Regions from separate parts of the Homo sapiens genome. Here regions 1 and 3 are each linked to region 2. The links are contacts of gene promoters, found by promoter capture Hi-C in blood cells and fetal thymus (Javierre and others, 2016). All regions are on one chromosome and are shown on one strand. The core of a region is centred on a gene start or on the middle of the fragment in contact, and the rest is flanking DNA. Distances in the headings are between cores, read along the strand shown. Region 1 overlaps SMAD5 (SMAD family member 5). Region 2 holds the start of LECT2 (leukocyte cell derived chemotaxin 2). Region 3 has its middle 21 kb from the start of SMAD5.

The links. The method cuts DNA at HindIII sites, captures the fragments that hold promoters and counts their contacts. A CHiCAGO score of 5 or more calls a contact.
Region 1: a fragment that was not itself captured here is called in contact with the fragment with the promoter of LECT2 in region 2 in 4 of 17 cell types (M0 macrophages, megakaryocytes, M2 macrophages and 1 more); the score reaches 6.7 in M0 macrophages.
Region 3: a fragment that was not itself captured here is called in contact with the fragment with the promoter of LECT2 in region 2 in 4 of 17 cell types (monocytes, M2 macrophages, M0 macrophages and 1 more); the score reaches 6.0 in monocytes.

Annotation. Positions count from the first base shown.
Region 1 is chr5:136,155,011-136,158,680 of GRCh38, forward strand. All of the region lies in intron 3 of SMAD5 (SMAD family member 5), which reads left to right. Among named protein-coding and RNA genes, the nearest start is that of SMAD5-AS1, 22 kb to the left of the region's middle. The HindIII fragment of the contact is 682 bases long and covers 1,653-2,334 here.
Region 2 is chr5:135,952,640-135,956,414 of GRCh38, forward strand. It overlaps LECT2 (leukocyte cell derived chemotaxin 2), which reads right to left and starts at 2,344. Exons shown (of 4, transcript NM_002302.3): 1 at 2,149-2,344; 2 at 232-328. The coding sequence starts at 2,194. The HindIII fragment of the contact is 4,908 bases long and covers 1-3,738 here.
Region 3 is chr5:136,110,028-136,113,466 of GRCh38, forward strand. No RefSeq gene overlaps it. Among named protein-coding and RNA genes, the nearest start is that of SMAD5, 21 kb to the right of the region's middle. The HindIII fragment of the contact is 8,576 bases long and covers 1-3,439 here.

The sequences.
Region 1 (3,670 bases), core at 744-3,243, 200 kb after region 2:
TTATATTATTTCTTTATGTGCTTTCATGCTGTCACATGTCTTAAGATTGTCTATAAGCTGATGCTCACATTTTGAACTCAAGTCAACTTCTCCCTTGAGTTTTAGATTTGTGTATCCAGTTGCCTACTTGACATTTCCACTTGAATATTTATTTATTAAACATACCAAATGTAATATGTCTAAGCGCAGTTTTTTTTCTCTGGTTTCCCCTATTGAAGTGAATGGCAACAGCATTCATGTAATTGCTAATGCCCTAAACTGCAAGGTCATCTTTTATTCTTCTTACTTAAATCCTATATTTAAAATATGAGCAAATGCTGTTTGCTGCACCTTCAAAATATGTCTTAATAAATATGTCACCTCTCATCATTTGTGACATCACTACTTTAGTACAGTACATCATCATCATCACTCACCTTAAGTAGTGTCCTAATTGGTCTTTCTGCGTCTCTTCTTCCCCTTAACCCATTGTGTTTTCCACACAACAGCCAGAATGATTTTTTAAAAACATACTAAATCATGTCAGTTCCTACTGAAAACACTTTCAAGGCTGTCACACTTAAAGAGATTTCTGTAAGACTCTGTATGACCTATCCTCAGAGTTCTCTGTTCCTTGGACTTGCCATACTCCTGTTTCCAGGCTTTAACTCTTGCTGTCTACTTATTCTCCCCCAGGATCTTTCCATGGCACATTTTCTCATTCCATTCAGTCCTTGCTCAAATATCCGCATCACTAATTGACTCTATATTAGATATTTATTTTGTTTATTGACTGACATGAGCAGAGTCTTCCTCTATTTCATTCATTACTCTATCCTTAGTGCTTAGAATAGTATATTGTTGTCTGGCACTTGGTAGGTGATGCTCAGTAAATTTTTTTTATAATGAATGGTATAAGCTGAGCTGCTAGCTGAGTGCATTAGTCATCTATTGCTGCATGACAGATTGCCACAAACTTAGTGGCTTAGCACAATGCATGTTTATTACCTCACAGTTTCTTTGGGTGAGGAGTCCAGTCACATTTAGCTGGGTCCTTTGCAAGGCGCTGTAATCAAGGTGTTGGTTAGGGCCAAGGTCTTATCAGAAGCTCAATTAGGGAAGGATCTGCTTCCAAGCCCATGTGATTGTTGACAGATTTAGTTGCTTTCACATAGCCTTCTTTATAGGTAGTTCACATTCATGACAGCTTCTTCAAAGCCAGTAAGGAAGAGAGGGTCTTCTGGTAAGAAGGACATTATATTCTTGTGGAATGTAATCATACATACGCTGTCACCTTTGCCATATTCTGTTGGTTAGAAGGAAGTGATAGGTCATACTCATACTCAAGCAGGGAGAATTACCCAATGGTTTGAATACCTGGAGGTGGGAATCACAGTGGTTACCTTAGAGTCTATCTGGGTTTCACGTGGAGATGTGTGGTAAAAAGACTGAAAATAACATTGGATGTGGAGACTAGTAGAAAGGATAGCAGATAGCAGTGATTATGCTGTCTGTGAAAGTTCAACTTAAGAGCTTTAGAGTGTCTTTAGACAGTTGGTATGATATGATTCTCAGTTTCTTACTGAGTCCAAGGAAAGCTGATAGCTGAAGGAACTGATGAAGAAAGGAAGATAAAAGGATTTAATAGAGAAGTATAGGCTGAAAAACTCCCAAGCTTGCTATTTGCTAGGAGGGAGTCTAGGAATTTTATGTATTCCCCTATAGCCAAAGTGTGACTAGTAGTCAGCCAGCCAATAGAAATGTCTTATTTTTTGTATACATTTTTCTCAGCTATGATTCATTCTATAGAAAAGACTGGGGCATAGCTCTGATACTTTTAAATAACGGAAAATTTCATGTCTTACTAGTTCAACTATTGGAAAGAGACTATAGAGACCTCATGTTTCGCCCTGAGCCCAAACTCTTGGGGGAAGGGGCAGATTACCCAGCTAGATTAGCTTGCTGACCCCCCATGATTAAGCAGCTATGACGCAGAATGGATCACTTCATATTACCAGTATTAATAAAGTAGTAGAAGGTGGTGGTAGTGATAGTAGTAACAGTGATAGCAATTAATATTTATTGAGCACTGATGGAATAGTGATTCCTTCATGGGGTTAGAAAAGGGTACTGACATTTTACAACCCTTTCAGTTTACTTATGGGTTTATAGATAAGGAAACAAAGACTTAAAAGGGAAGTAACTTAGGCATGCTCACACAGTTAGAATATAGTGGAGTAAGTTTTGCAAAAAGATAAAAAGATGGAGGATAGTTAGAAAGAGATAATGAACATAAGAAAAATAGAGGGCCAACCTAGGTGGTCCTAGGTGTTTAGTTGAATACAGTGCACCCTAAGCTTTTTGGCACCAGGGTCTAGTTTCATGGAAGACAGTCTTTCCATAGAATTGGTTGGGGGATGGTTTTGGGATTATTCAAGCACATTATATTTATTGTGCACTTTATTTCTATTATTACATTGTAATATGTAATGAAATAATTATACATTTCACCATAATGTCAAATTAGTGGGAGCCCTGAGCTTGTTTACCTGCAGCTAGGTTGTCTCATCCAGGCATGATGGGAGACAGTGACAGATCATCAGGCATTAGATTCTCATAAGGAGCGCACAACCTAGATCCCTCATATGTGCAGTTGGCGATAGGATTTGCTTTCCTATGAGAATCTCATGCTGCTACTGATCTGACAGGAGGCGGAGTTCAGGCGGTAGTGAGAGCAATGGGGAGTGGCTGGAAATACAGATGAAGCTTCGCTCACTCTCTCTCACCATCACCTCCTGCTGTATGGCCTGGTTCATAAGAGAGCATGAACTGGGGGGGTTAGGGACCCCTGATCTAATAGACAGTATTGTCTATTGATTAAGACTGTGGGTTCTGGAGCCAGGCTTTCTGGATTTGAATCCTGGTTTTACCAAATACTACCTCAAGCCTTAACCTTTCTGAGATTTAGTTTCCTCATTGTAAAATGGTAATAATACTACCTACCTAATAGGTTGTTATGAGCATTAGATGAGTTGGTGCCTTAAAAAGTACTTGTTAAAACATTAAGTGGCCTGGAATCAGTTTCAAATTAAATATCAATTCTAATAGAATAATATATTCTGGAAATAGAGCATTGAGGAAGATGGCAGAGAGAAAATTTTCCAAGAAATAATATCAAACACTTCCCCAAACTGAAAATTGAAAGGGCTCAGTGACCAAGTAATCAGAACAAAGGATAAAAAAAGCCCCACATGAAATTTTTGTATATCATAGATTAAAAAAAAGATTCTGAAAACTTTCCAGAAAAGAAAGACAGGAAACATATAAAGGACTAGAAATCAGAATACTGGATTTCTCAATGCAGTTCTGGATTCTAGAAGAAAGTAAAGTAGTGCTGTCAAAATTCAGAAGGAAATGTTATCTGCCTGCCGACAAGCAAAAAAAATAAATTTTTATACATGCAGGAAGTCAAGAAAATTCAACTTTTTACTTTCTCTTAGGACACTAATAGAGGATGAGGTCCAGGAAATGTGATCCAGCAGTAGAGAAGGGAAGTCCAAGGACTTCAGACTTGTAGGAGACTTGAGCAGTAACCAATATAGGTTGGAACCAAAAGTTGGAAGATCTGGGCCTGGCACGGTGGCTCACGCCTGTAATCCCAGCACTTTGGGAGGCCGAGGTGGGCAGATCA
Region 2 (3,775 bases), core at 1,094-3,593:
GTGTTTGCTCCCTGATCTTTTCCTTCTTCCACATTCTGATCCCAATTTATAGCTCATACTTGAAGCAGAGTTCTTGGAAGCTGCTCCAAAGACAGTGATGTAACTGGTTACATCTCTGGTTTTTCATGCTGTCAGAACTGTGAGCCCTTGAGGCAACCAACGTTGGGCAAGGACACTAAGAAAAGAGGTTAGGGACCAAAGGGTTGGGTGGGTGGTTGTGCAACTTCATACCTTTGAGCAGAGTACTGTCCACAGCCATGGCGGTCACACGTCCGGATCTCATTGGAAGACTTGCCAGCACATATATTAGCCCATGGCCCTGCCAGTGCTAAAAAGGAGAAAAGTGAGAGCAGAGCTCCTGGCCTCAGACATTTCCTATCCCCATTTGCCTTATCAGTCACACAGTTGATCCTGACAATTCTGTTTTCACTGTAGTTTTCCCTGGACTTTATGTATTTATGGGAAGATCGTCCTTCCAGAATTTTATTTCCTGATTCAGATGTAAAATTGGCTTTTTCCCTGGCCACAGAATTCTGCTTTGTGACGTTAGAGTATCAGTGAATACAATTTTTTTTTTTTTTGGATCGGAGTCTCACTCTGTTGCCAAGCTGGAGCACAGTGGCGTGATCTCAGCTGACTTCAACCTCCATCTCCTGGGTTCAAGTGATTCTCCTTCCCCAGCCGCCTGAGTAGCTGGGACTACAGGTGCGCACCACCACACCCAGCTAATTTTTGTATTTTTAGTAGAGACGGAGTTTCACCATGTTGGTCAGGACGGTCTTGATCTCTTGACCTCGTGATCTGCCTGCCTCAGCCTCCCAAAGTGCAGGGATTACAGGCGTGAGCCACTGCGCCCAGCTGAATGTGTTTCTTTATAAGCATTGGCCTCCATCATTATACTTTGCTTCAGATCCATTAGTAAATGGTATAAGTTGTGCTTTTCTATTTTTCTTTGCTCATTATCTGCCATGGGGATCATTATTTTTAGATTAAGCAAAAATAATAAAATAGCATGGCTCAGAAAATAATTTTAGAAATTGTAATTTTGAAATGGTTAGTTCCACTAATCAAATCCAAGCAAATGTTTGAATTAAAGGAGAAACGAACTCTGTACTAGCCAAGTTTGTTTAACACTAGATAAATCTCTCATAGTTGCCAACATGGAAGAGGGAGATTCTTAAAAATAATCTGAAATGTCAAACCAATTTAGCCTAGACTGAGATTAGGGGTGAAGGTAGGAGAAGGAGTAGAACCAATTATATGAAAAATTATGAAACGTGGAGGAGGGGCTGCTTTCTCAGCAGACTTGGTGCAAACTTTGTTTCAGGCACAATTTGTTTCTTTACTATAGTAAGCACTTAATAAATGTTCAATGGAATTAAATGTCCTGGATTTCCAGTGTTAACATTCACAGAGAGATACAGTGAGCACACTCAACCTTGCACTTTGAAACAAACAAGCAAAAGCGAGAGCCTGGTAATTTGACTATTGATTTTATTTAAAGACATTTTACTCTTCATTAATACCTATCCTGTGAAGAGAACCTACAGAATATGGCCATTAAGCCTCTTCTTTAAAATACTTTTAAAAGGTGGGTTTCAAAAGTTTTATGCCTTGGAGCCAAGCTCCAAATCAACACCTTGATCAAGATATAATCCCATCACTTTGGCAACTAATATTTATCCTTGGGAATTGAGGCAAATATCAGACAGTGTAGTAATTTATTCACTTTTTCCTCCTTCGGTGAGTATTAAGGGAGCCATCCCTTTGTCTTAATCCATACCAGTCTCTGTATTAGTATCTGTATCAGAATTTGATTTTGATCAAAATCAGAATCAAATATTTATATCAACTTTTTATTATCTAGTTTTGTTCTAGTTAAGTCCCAGACCCAGACTCAGACTGAAAGGCTTTGTAATGTCTTCTCAACCCACTATTATGTTTCCCTCATTAAAGAACCGGAACATTCCATTTAAATTACTTAAAACATCCTCAGGACCATGTGTCATTCCTATTTCATTTTTAATAGCCAAATACACAAGTCTTTGTTGTGATCATGCTATTAATGACTTTTTAATCTTTTTAGTCTTCCCCTGAAATCAGTTTTTAAAAGTTAATCAATATTCTAAAATTGCACTTTCGACTTACCGGTAGAAATCAGACCAGCCAAAAGGAGGGCTTTGGTGGAAAACATCTGGTTTTACTTCCTTTAGTTTCTTCCTCTGATTAGAGTTGCCCCCACACTCTCTTTGAAGAATATTCAAGTTTGAATGAATACTTCCTAGCTATTTAGCCTTAGAATTCTGCATCTCTCATTTCTTTAGTGTGAGACACAAAAAGTTTAAGAGGATGGAGCAAGTCAAGTTCTAATATTCCATGGATAGCTATTTGATTTGCAGGTAGGGCCTATGTAAAAGCCTTTGATCTGAAGAAGAAGCCAATTATATTGGAAATACTGACTAAATATTAACAGAAAATGATAAGGCTAGGTGCATATCGACAGTCTTCTGGGCTGTGGCTTGTAGGAGAATGTTCGTGCGAATGATGGAATATTTAGTGCTGCCTGCTGGTAGATCTTTCTTTTATTTCCTTGATAGCACATATTTCAGAAGAAAATTGGTCATTAATAATGTGTAGCCCTTCATAACATATTCCTTAATATATCCCTTAGGTGTTTTTGAATTCTCAGTTTAATTATATTTCACCTGTGTAATATTTGCAAATAACTTTAATATTTTAATAAAATTGCATGTATTCACCTTAAATATGTGATTTTTAAATGTTTTCTTGTTTATGATAATGGTAAGTTAACACCATTAAAAGCATCCATCAATAAAGGAAAAAAGATTAATTATAATATAGTCATTGATATGGTTTGGATCTGTGTCCCCACCCAAATCTCATGTTCAATTGTAATCCCCAGTGTTGGAGGTGGGGCCTGGTGAGAGGTGATTGAATTATGGGGCTAGAGTGCTCATGAATGGGTTGGCATCATCCCCTTAGTGCTGTTGTCCTGATAGTGAGTGAGTGAGTTATGGTGAGATCCGGTTGTTTAAAAGTGTGTAGCACCTCCCCTGTTCTCACTTCCTCCTGCTTCAGCCGTGTAAGACATGCCTGCTTGCCCTTTGCCTTCCGCCATGATTTTCAGTTTCCTGAGACGTCCCAAGAAGCTACCATGCTTTCTGTACCTCTTTTCTTTATAAATTACCCAATCTCAGGTATTTCTTTATAGCAATGCAAGAACAGAATAATACAGTCATACAACAGAGTAAAATATAACAATTTAAATGAAGACAATCTACATGTATTAACACAGCTAGATCTCTAGATATACTGTTGAATTAAAAAGCTATTTTTAGAATTATATATATAGTATCATACTATTTATAATATGTAAAATCTGAAAACAAGTATATTAATCTTAATGAATGCTGTATGTATAATAAAAATATGCACAGACTACCTTTAAGGTACTAATTACTTCTGGATAGTGAGAGAAATAAAACCGTGGAAGGATATACAGAGTACATAAACTCTAAAATATTTTATTTCTAAAAAAAGAAAAAAATCAGAAGCAAATATGTTAAAATATTAATTTGTTAATTATTGGAGATAGACACATGGATGTTATGTTACCCTGTACTTTTCTGGGGAATTAAATTTTCAGTGTGTTTCAAATATATGTTAGCAGCTCCTTTTTAGCTTAATATTAGATGAGCACCTGGAATTTTCTATGGAAGCTTCCCCATTTAAATTATGTGCCAGTAGCTGTGGG
Region 3 (3,439 bases), core at 665-3,164, 160 kb after region 2:
TCCTCCCTAGCAAGACATTATCAACTGCTCTAGAACCTGAGTCTGAGGAACAGCACGTGTGCCTCTTTTGAGTCAGTAAAGTCAGCTGGACCTGTTGGAAAGGTGGCATGGGGTGAGAAGTCTTTGCTTCCCTTAATCCCACCTCATCTGAGATCTGCTTCCAATTTTAATGTTGTTTCTGGGGAGAGGCCCAGAACTGTCTCTGAGCCTTTTTAACAGTGAGAAGATTTATACAAGTCATGTGAACTACCCTGAAATATTTAAAAGCTAACTCATGATGGAAGACCTTAGACCTATTCTGTGGGTTTCCAGAGGATATGTATCCTTGTCAATAGTGGGAATGACCAACCTGGGCAACAAAGCAAGGTCCCATGTCTACAAAAAAATGTAAAAATTAGCTGGGCACAGTGGTATGTGCCTGTAGTCCCAGTCATTTGGGCGGCTGAGGCAGGAGGATCTTTTGAGCCCAGGAGTTTGAGGCTGCAAGTGAGTTATGATTGTGCCACTGCACTCCAGCCTGGGTGGCAGGGCAACACCCTATCTCAAAAAGAATAGTAATGATAATAAAATGGGGATGGGTTATAGGGGAAGTGGGGCATTTTTGACTCATTGTAAGGAATTACCTAAGAAACTGAGTATATAAAGGAATGAACCATTTCCTACAGCAGCAGTGAGTTCCCTGTCACAGGAAGAGTGTAAGCAGAGAGCTGATGGCCATTGTCAGGCTTGTTAGAGGATGACTAGGATGCTCTAACAAGGAGGGAATGTTGTTCCCTTCCAGAATTTCATTCGAATATGAGATGTATGAGAATAGGGACTGCATCTGCTTGTCCATGGTTGTACACCAGTTACATGAGCAATGCTTGTGTAGAGGATGTTTGGTGTGTATTTTTGAACAGGGAAGTAAAATAATGATCGAAGGGAGGAAACTGAAGCTCCGTGTCATCTTTACCTAGCACACAGCTTGCTGCATAGCAACAGAAACTTGCCTCTCAGGGTGTCTATGTGGATCCTTAGAATTCTCTTTTTTTCCCCAAATCCAAGTTAATAGTCCTATCATCTGGAAACCTGGATGCTCTATGATCTTCAGCATCATTCAAATCTGTCTGAGTTTCAGAAATGACTACTCAACATTATGGATGAATTAGGCTTTAAAACATTCAGATTTGGGCTGTTCTCAGAACACATAGCAGCATAGCAAGGCATCAAAGTTTTGGGCTTTGGATTCATACAGACTTGACTCTATCACTTAAAAGTGTGACTTTGGCTGGGTATGGTGGTTCACACCTGTAATCCCAGCACTTTGGGAGCCTAAGGCAGGAGAATCACTTGAGCCCAGGAGTTTGAGACCATCCTGGGCAATGTAGGGAGACCCCATCCCTACAAAAAATAAAAACAAATAACTCAGGCTTGGTAGCATCTGCCTGTGGTCCCGGCTACTGGGGAGGCTGAGGTTGGAGGATCACTTGTGTCTGGGTGGTCGAGGCTGCAGTGAGCTATATGATTGAGCCACTGCACTTTAGCCTGGGCATCAGAGTGAGACTCTGTCTCAAATAATAAATAATAATAATAATATGATTTTGAGCAAATGGCCTTCTCATGTTGCTTTCAACCTCAGTTTTCTCACCTGTGAAATAGGGGCAATAACAATACACTTAACAGTACACTCAAATTACTGTCAAAATTACTATTTCATATGCCTGTCTCACAGCCACATGAGGGAAGGTTCTCCATTTTAAGCTGCTAATCACCCCTAAGCTGTTAGTCCCAGGCTCAGAGCTTGGTGGCAGCTCAAATTGCAGACCTAGAAAAACAGTTTGGGAAGAGACTCAGGGCTCATCAGGCAGTTGTCAGGCAGTGAAGATTAGCGAGTAGAGAACAAGATTGTCACCCACCTTGATATAGTTTGGATGTGTGTCCTTGCCCAAGTCTCATGTCCATATGTAATCCCCAGTGTTGGGGGGTGGGTGGGGGGGTGCTGGTGGGAAGTGATTCGATCATGGGAGTGAATTTCTTTCTTTCTTTCTTTTTTTTTTTTGAGACAGAGTCTCATTCTGTCACCCAGGCTGGGGTGCAGTGGCATGATGTCAACTCAATGAAACCTCCGCCTCCTGGGTTCAAGCAATTTTCCTGTCTTAGCTTTCTAAGTAGCTGGGATTACAGGCATGCACCACAATGCCCAGCTAATTTTTTGTGTTTTTGGTAGAGATGGGATTTTACCACATTGCCCAGGCTGGTCTTGAACTCCTGAGCTCAGGTGATCTGCCTGCCTCGGCCTCCCAAAGTGCTTAGGATTACAGGTGTGAGCCACCACACCCGGCCAAGGGGGTGAATTTCTTATTAATGGTTTAGCACCATCCTCTTGGTTCTGTCCTCATGATTGTGAGTTCTCATAAGATCTGGTTATTTAAAAGTGTGTGACACCTTCCCTCTCTTGCTCCTGCTCTGGCTATGTGACATGCCTGCTCCCACTTCACCTTTTGCCATGACTGTAAGTTTCCTGAGGCCTCTCCAGAAGCTGACCAGATGCCAGCATCATGTCTCCTGTACTGTTTGTGGAACCATGAGGTCATTTCGTGACCTCTTTTCTTTATAAATTACCAGTCTCAGGTATTTCTTTACAGCAATGCAAGAATGGCCTAATACACACCTGTAAACATTTTAGGAAGCTCACTAGGGACAAAAACAAAGTGCCTTCTTGTCTTCAGATTCCTTTATACATCAGAGAGTTGGGAGGGAAAGCTGTCATGCTCAGAATTTCACATGGGCCCTTGCAAAAGGAGCATGTGTTTCTATGAGAGGTGGGGCCAAAGAGATTGTCAGTATGGGGAAGTGCCCCAGGACTCTTAACTCACAGCTAAGGGAAAGAGGGAGTGGAGGGGAGCAGCAGCGTTTGTGAACCAGCAGGCAAGGGAAGCCCCTAGAGGAGCAGTGTGGTCTAGTGGGAGTTGAGGGGCCTGCTGGGGTTATGGAGAGTACCAGGAAGGAAGCAGCTCTGGGGGAAATAGTCCTTGGAATCTGCTGCCTTCTGCCAGCTAGGGTTCAGTCCATAATCCCAGCACTGGGATTAGGAAGGCTCAAATGTCTTCAGTGTTACCATCACCATGAACTAGAGCCAAGACCAGCACCCAGGTTAGCTGATTTCTGGGCACTGTCTGTTCCCTTTAATTTCTGCCCTCCCAGGGGACACCTGGAAAGCTCTGAGGTCCTGTGGTGATGGGGGCTTATTCATTTGATTCTGGAAATATTTACTGTCATTCACTCTGTTCCAGGCCTGGTGGTAAATCTGGGGGATAAAAAGGAGAGCAAAGACACTCATTTATTCACTTGGTCAGCGAATTGTGAGTGGGACTGATGGGCTCTGTACTATGTGCTGTGCTGGGTTTGAGGACACAAAGACAAGTGACTTCGTTCCTCCTGTAAGCACACATTGAATGCA